Linked DNA regions of Homo sapiens: region 2 is linked to region 1. The links are contacts of gene promoters, found by promoter capture Hi-C in human tissues and cell types (Jung and others, 2019). All regions are on one chromosome and are shown on one strand. Each heading gives the region's core, a stretch centred on a gene start or on the middle of the fragment in contact. The rest is flanking DNA. Distances are from core to core; before and after follow the strand shown.

Region 1 (3,675 bases), core at 405-2,904:
AGCTATTATCATCAAGATCCCATTTGCCTGTCAATAGGAAGTCATTTTACACCAATAAATCGCCCAAAACCCAAATTAAGTGGCATCCTTCTCACCCCACCCCCCCCCCCAGTATCTGCTACTTATCAATGAATGAATGCAGATCATCAAAAGATCTGGGTCTTTCTGACAGATGTATGACAAACTGCGAGACAGTAATCCCCAAACACTTCTCTCATCCTAAAAATAAACCATTTACATCAGGTTGGCGGTTAGGGCGGGGACCAGGAGGCAAATACCTGCAGCTGGGGTATTTTCCTGCAGCTGGGGGTGGAGCCGGGGACGTACCTTCCATTTTCATTCCCTCTTTCTGTTCTATATACTTCCTAAAGCAGATTCTATTAACCAAGAACTGGGAATAAGCAAGCAAGCAAACAAACAACCTGTGATTTTGCAGAAATGACTGAAAACGGAAATTCACTTACTTCCTGTACTGCACCGGGGGCTTCGAAGTGATGAAAGGTCTAAGCAGGGTCTGTCCTCGACCCTCCCAGCACCAGACCGTCGGGTAGTACGTTTCTGTAACCACGGGACAGTGGTCTTGAAGGAAGCGGCTGAAACTCTCACCCCCGGTCACTAACTGGGGTTTCTGAAGGGAAAAGCAGTATCAGAGAAGGGCCCAGAGCAAAGTTTCTGCCAACCGTAAACCAGAAACCGGCAAAGACTTGTCGCTCGCGCGCGCGCTTCCTCCGATTACAACTCTTTCTGGAGGGCTGACGCAAAAAATTCACAGTCACAGAGGACTGAAACGGGGGTTTCGCCAATGCCCCGAGGGGAAGGCGAGAATCGCGATAAGGGAGTTTGTTTGTTTTTAACTCCGCCTCCCGGGTTCAGGGGATTCTCCTGCCTCAGCCTCCCGAGTAGCTGGGATTGCAGGCGTCCGCCACCACGCCCGGCTAATTTTTTGTAATTGTAACGGGGTTTCACCATTTTGGTCAGGCTGGTCTCGAACTCTTGACCTCAGGTGATCCACCCGCCTCGGGCTCCCAAAGTGCTGAGATTACAGGCGTGAGCCACCGTGCCCTGCCCGGAGTCATTTTCAAAAGCGCCACGGCGTTCCCGAGTGCGCCGCCGGCTTCGCGATCGGTGACCGGGCAGCGCCGCAGCGCAGAAGTCAGCCGGGTTCAGGCTGCGCTCCGAGGACCACCCGGCCGGGACCCCCAGGGGGCGGGCGAACGGGCGGGGCCTGTTGGCTTTCCCGCGCGCGCTGGGGGCTGCCGCTCGGGAGCAGCTCGCCGCCTATCCCCGGGGCTGCCGACCGCCCCTGGCCGCGCAGCCTCGCGCCGCGCCTGCTACCCTAGCTCCTGGCCCAGCAGCCCGCGGCCCTGCGCCACCCCCGGCTCACCTTGGCAATGCTGCTCAGGTAGTAGAAGGCATAAGCGACGCTGAAGCCCAGGATAAGGGATAAGCCCACCCCCGAGCCGAAGAACCCCACCCGGACTTGGTGTTCCAGGTAGAGGGAGAGCTCCCGGGACAACATCCGCAGGTCCATGGCCAGGCGCTGCATGGCCCCCGAGCGCGGCGCGCGGGTCCTGCGGCGGGAGGAGAGCCGGCTGGCGAGCGGGCGAGAGCGGGCGAGAGCGGACGCGGCGCCGCTGCCTACTCCCGACCACAGTGTCTCCTGCCTGGCGGAGCGCGGCTTCCGACAACGGGCGGGGCGGAGCGGCCCAGGGAGGCGTAGCCCGAGACTCCAACGCCGCCCGCTCCGCCCCGGCTTCCTGGAGCCGCCCCCACTGCCAGCCACTCAGGAACCTTCCAGAAGCGCGGTTCCAAGACCGGCCACCGGGAGGGCGGGCGGACTGGGTTCTCCCAGCTAGGTCGCAGTGGGCGATGGGGATCCCCAAGGGTGGGCCGAGAGCTGACGGATCGGCAGCGCTGGTTAAGGCCCCGCACCTGCAGCCCCAGTGACCTTGAACGATTCCGCTCTGCGGCGGGTGTCCCTAAACTAGCAGTTTAGGGTGTCAGGTAAGCGTGCCTTGCATTCAAAGATTTGGGGAGTTAATGCCAAAGATATGTTAGCAGGTAAGAATCCCACATCCTCTAGACGTTTGCGTTGGTCCTCAAGACTATGGAAAGAGAAAAAATATTCTATGAGCATTCAACAGTGAGGACATCATACTCGACTCTGAATCACTCTGTGAATCTTTTTAGTTGCTAAGTGTCACTTAAATGAGAAGTGGTCTCTGAAAATAAATGAAAAGGTCAAGAATAGCAACCGGGATTCAATTGTTAAAAGCCTATTTGTGGTTCATTAATGCTTTGAATTTAGAGACTTATGGAAATTCACACCGATTACCTAATGTACAGACAAGAAACCATTTATGAAGTAGGGTCTCCTAGGCTTATTTATGGCAATATGATAAATCAGGATACTTATGGTTATCTGAAATGGTTAGAATTTAATAGCCTATTCCTACTCTTATGAACTCCTTCCTCAGAGAGGTAGGAAGAATGGCAAGACTTAAACAGACGAAAGAAGGGAAAGTGCTGTCTAGATTATGAAAAATGCCAAAGGATTGTAAATTAATGATGTAATTTAGATGGGGACATGAGACGGACCAGAAGTGAGCAATTTATTTGGCTCCGATTTGGTCATTGCAACTTGGTGGTTGGCTGCAGCACCCAAAATAATTCAATTACCTTTACTGAGCCTGTTTTTTTCTTGTTTTAATAATCTGTAGCGTAACAATTTCTACTTTATAGAGTTCCCGAGAGGACAAGATAGTGTATATACTGGACTCCCCGTGAGCAGAAGTAATTTTCACGCTCTGGCTCTCACACCTGAGCACACATAGCAAACGTGAATGCATATGCTGGTTGCCATACTTGAAACTTCATAGCATTCTTCATAACCCCTGCACCAGCCTTCTGCACTACCTACCAATAAATGCATGCGTATTTCAGTTTAAGTTTGTTCTGTTTTGTTTTGTTTTGTTTTTTGAGACAGAGTTTTGCTCTTGTTGCCCAGGCTGGAGTGCAATGGCGAGATCTCGGGTCACTGCAACCTCCACCTCCCGGGTTCACGTGATTCTCCTGCCTCAGCCTCCCGAGTACCTGGGATTACAGGCATGCACAACCACACCCAGCTAATCTTGTATTTTCAGTAGAGACAGGGTTTCACCATGTTGACCAGGCTGGTCTGGAACTCCTGATCCACTCGCCTCGGCCTCCCAAAGTGCTGGTGAGAGGTGACAACGTGCTAGCAGCCCTCGCTCGCTCTCAGCACCTCCTCAGGCCAGGGCATCCACTCTGGCCGCGTTTGAGGAGCCCTTCAGCCCGCTGCTGCACTGTGGGAGCCCCTCTCTGGGCTGGCTGAGGCCGGAGCCAGCTCCCTCTGCTTGCAGGGAGGTGTGGAGAGAGAGGCGTGGGCGGGAACCGGGGCTGCTGTGCCCCGCGATCACGGGCCAGCGGGAGTTCCGGGTGGGTGTGGGCTCGGCGGGCCCTGCACTCTGAGCGCCGGCTGGCACCGCCGGCCCTGGCCAGTGAGGGGCTTAGCACCCAGACCAGCAGCTGTGGAGGGTGCCCCGGGTCCACCAGCAGTGCCAGCCCGCCAGCGCTGCACTGGAATTCTTGCTGGGCCTCAGCTGCCTCCCCACGGGGCAGGGCTCAGGACCTGCAGCCCGCCATGCCTGAGCC
Region 2 (3,675 bases), core at 450-2,949, 62 kb after region 1:
AGTTTGTTTCCATGATATCATGAAGGCAAAATGGTCTTTTCTTTTGGAGTAATTGTTTACCTAGAAAATAGTTGAAAATTCTTTCAAAGATTTCTGAGGTTTTGTAGTCTGAAACATCTCCTTAGTGATAAAGGATTCTTTCTTTCTCTGTGCTGAACTTAAGTTCTAGTTTGTGGATGAGAGCGAGGAAAGAGTTACTGAGATGTGTTCTTACTAATGAAAAAGGGAGCAGAGGGAAAATATATATAATTCGCATTTATTAACGTAGTTGAGATCCATTATCTTGAAGCTATATGTGTTAAATTTGAAGTGTTATTTCCTAATTTATTAGAATATCTTGTAAAATGTTCTGTTCTTATTTTTTTCCCCCAAGGAATAATATTCAAATAAATAAAATTTGTGATTAATCTGAGCATGTGTCCTTGTTTTAATAGGCATCAAGCATGATGGAACCATGTGTGATACCTGCCGCCAGCAACCAATCATTGGCATTCGATGGAAGTGTGCAGAGTGTACAAATTATGATTTGTGCACAGTGTGTTATCATGGAGATAAACATCATTTAAGACATCGCTTTTACCGAATTACTACACCGGGAAGTGAGAGGTAGGGAGAACCCTTTTCTTCTTCAACCGAGGGTTTTTGTTTGTATTCAAGTTATGTACTTCTGGGCCTTAAAAATAGGATTAGCAAATAGCTTCTGACAGTTGGTTTACTAACAGGAGGTACCCAATAGTAGGATAGAAGTGGACCAAATCTGCCATATAACAAGAGAAGAGCTCTTTGAAGATGGAGCTGTCTGTACTTTTCCAAGGTAATCTGGGCTATTCTTTCTCTGGCTTAGAGGGTTAGCACTACTCTACATTTGGAAATACAAGGGTATCCAAAAAGATACCAATTGTTTTCTTCTCACTATGCCTTCTAGTCTGTTAATTGATATCAGATGAATGGTAGGGCTCATTGATTGAGTCAGTAGGCATTTATTAGGACTATACAACATCTACTATGTTTATGGACACTAGAAGATAAATAAGACACATAGTATTCTTAAGGAGTTTACAAATTAAAGGAAATAATGAGTCAGTGATTATCATGTGATGTTTTAGACTGTGTTAGAGATATGTATTAAGTGTCTTAGGAGCAAGGAGAGAGGAGTATTCATTGTTAATGGGGGCGGAGTTTTAGGTAATGGGATCTTCTCATGTAGATACAGATACTGCAAAGGAGCGAGAATCCAGCCAGTCATAGGGAGGCAGCTAGGAGTAGGAGTAGATAAATAGATTTTGGAGTCATACCTCTCTTGGTGTAGATCATAATCGTGCCACTTATTAACTGAGTAATTTTGAACAAGTTGGTTATTTTTGTCTTTTGTTTGCAATTAAAATTAAGGAATAATAAAGACACTGTAAAAATGAATAAGGCTGGGCGGGTGGCTCATGCCTTTAATTCTAGCACTTTGGGAAGCCTGAGGTGGGAGGATTACTTGAGGCCAGGCGTTCAAGACCACCCCGGACAGCATAGTAAGACCTCATCTCTATTAAAATAAGTAAATAAATGAAAAGAATAGAACAATAAAATAAAATTAGGAAAACAAAACAAAAATCTCCAAACCTTTCTGATTATGTGAATGAGAAAGATGTAGAACAATAGGGATACATGGTCTTGGAGAACCAAGCTGGACCAGATACTTGAGTGTAGAATCTTTATCAAGGTTCATAATCTTCTGTAAGTATGTAGTACTGTGAGAACAGGTTAGTGTAGGTAAAATCCAGACCACAGATGTATTTTACCGATACATACATATATTAATCCCTTTTCATACTGCTATGAAGAAATACCCGAGACTGGGTAATTTATAAAGGAAAGAGGTTTAATTGACTTACAGTTCAGCATTGCTGGGGAGGCCTCAGGAAACTTATAATCATGGTGGAAGGGGAAGCAAACACGCCCTTCCTTCTTCACATGGCAGCAGCAAGGAGAAGTGCTGAGCAAAAAAGGGGGAAAGCCCCTTATTAAAATCATCAGGTCTCGTGAGAACTCACTATCAAGAGAACAGCATGGAGGTAACCGCCCCCATGATTAAGTTACCTCCCACTGGGTCCCTCCCTCGACGTGTGGGAATTATGGAAACTACAGTTCAAGATGAGATTTGGGCGGGGACACAACCAAATCATATCAATACAGTACTCTTAAATTTTTGAATAATGGCTATTTTTTTTTTGTTTTTTGAAATGGAGTCTCTCTCTGTTGCCCAGGCTGGAGTGCAGTGGCACAATGTTGGCTCACTGTAACCTCCGCCTCCCAGGTTCACGCCATTCTCCTGCCTCAGCCTCCCGAGTAGCTGGGACTACAGGCGCCCGCCACCACACCCAGCTAATTTTTTGTATTTTTAGTAGAGACAGGGTTTCACCGTGTTAGTCAGGATGGTCTCGATCTCCTGACCTCGTGATCCACCTGCCTTGGCCTCCCAAAGTGCTGGGATTACAGGTGTGAGCCACCATGCCTGGCTGGAATAATGGCTAGTTTTTAAAAACAGGTGATTTCACACAAAAATCTGTTGATGGATTCATAGAACACCCTGCTCCCCCCACTGCCCCCGCCAATACAGAAGACTATCAGTACTGGGCTTACGTTTGTTCTTGGCAACAGTTTGTTGAAGCAATGGAGCCCTTTAGACTGGACCTTTTAGACTGATGATGCTTTTGAGTCAACCAAAGTCCCTGCCATTTCCTGTTATCTTCCCAAGTCTGAGGTCAAGTGCCATTTGCCATTGTAGTGCTGTCTTTCTTGGGCTGTCATTACTCACCTAGAAGCTATAGCGATTTGAGTTTGCCATCTCTACAATAGTGAAGAGTATAGTGATACCCAGATACCCTGAAATGCTTAGACTAGGATCATATGTGGAGTCCATTACATTTTAACTTTTGTGGCCTTGGGCACATTACTTCTTTGAGACTCAGTTTCCTCATTTATAAAGTGGATAATATAGCGGTAACTTTCTCTTAAGGAGTGTAACACACTTTACTCCTATGCAAGTGCTTTTACATATTATATAATAAAAGCTTAGTAAAAGTTAGCTGTGATTATTATTACAGCTACTACTGCCATCATCATCATCACCTGTGGAATATAAAAGGTATTCCTGTATCATGCTATTATGGTAGTAACCAGAACAATGAAGAATCTTTTTACTTTCAAAATAACATTTTTATAATTTTGTTTTAAAAAGTAAATTATTGTTACCTATTTTTATATAAACTTGAAAATAAATAATTTTATTTTTAGGGTTCTGTTAGAGTCTCGTAGGAAATCTAAGAAGATTACAGCCAGAGGAATCTTTGCAGGTGCCAGAGTGGTGCGAGGAGTGGACTGGCAGTGGGAAGATCAAGATGGAGGAAATGGACGTAGGGGAAAGGTACAGTGTTTCTCTGAATTCATTATGTATTCTAGAGTATTATATGTTCAGAACCTTTTTATTACTACTATAAATGAATTTCTTGGTCCATTGTTTTCCATGCCAGTAACAGTTTTTAAAATCTTGATTTCTTTTTTCTCTGGAAGTAAAAAGATTGTTCTTGCTTTTTGTAAGCATTGATGTTCCTTAGAGGGTCATTAGGTAGGTTTTACCTTCCCACCTTCAGGTTTCATATTGTCATTTTGTTACCTAGCATGCTT

What was found. The method cuts DNA at HindIII sites, captures the fragments that hold promoters and counts their contacts. A contact is called where the count stands out against the background at its distance.
Region 2: a fragment that was not itself captured here is called in contact with the fragment with the promoter of ABHD3 in region 1 in 3 of the 25 tissues and cell types used here (lymphoblastoid cells, spleen and stomach).

Annotation. Positions count from the first base shown.
Region 1 is chr18:21,703,120-21,706,794 of GRCh38, forward strand. It overlaps ABHD3 (abhydrolase domain containing 3, phospholipase), which reads right to left and starts at 1,655. Exons shown (of 9, transcript NM_138340.5): 1 at 1,385-1,655; 2 at 465-628. The coding sequence starts at 1,546. It also overlaps a transcript of MIB1 not described here. RefSeq lists enhancers at 383-532, 1,993-2,062 and a silencer at 1,053-1,822. The HindIII fragment of the contact is 17,143 bases long and covers 1-3,675 here.
Region 2 is chr18:21,765,338-21,769,012 of GRCh38, forward strand. MIB1 (MIB E3 ubiquitin protein ligase 1) reads left to right here. Exons shown (of 21, transcript NM_020774.4): 2 at 435-606; 3 at 3,286-3,415. Among named protein-coding and RNA genes, the nearest start is that of MIB1, 26 kb to the left of the region's middle. The HindIII fragment of the contact is 7,506 bases long and covers 1-3,675 here.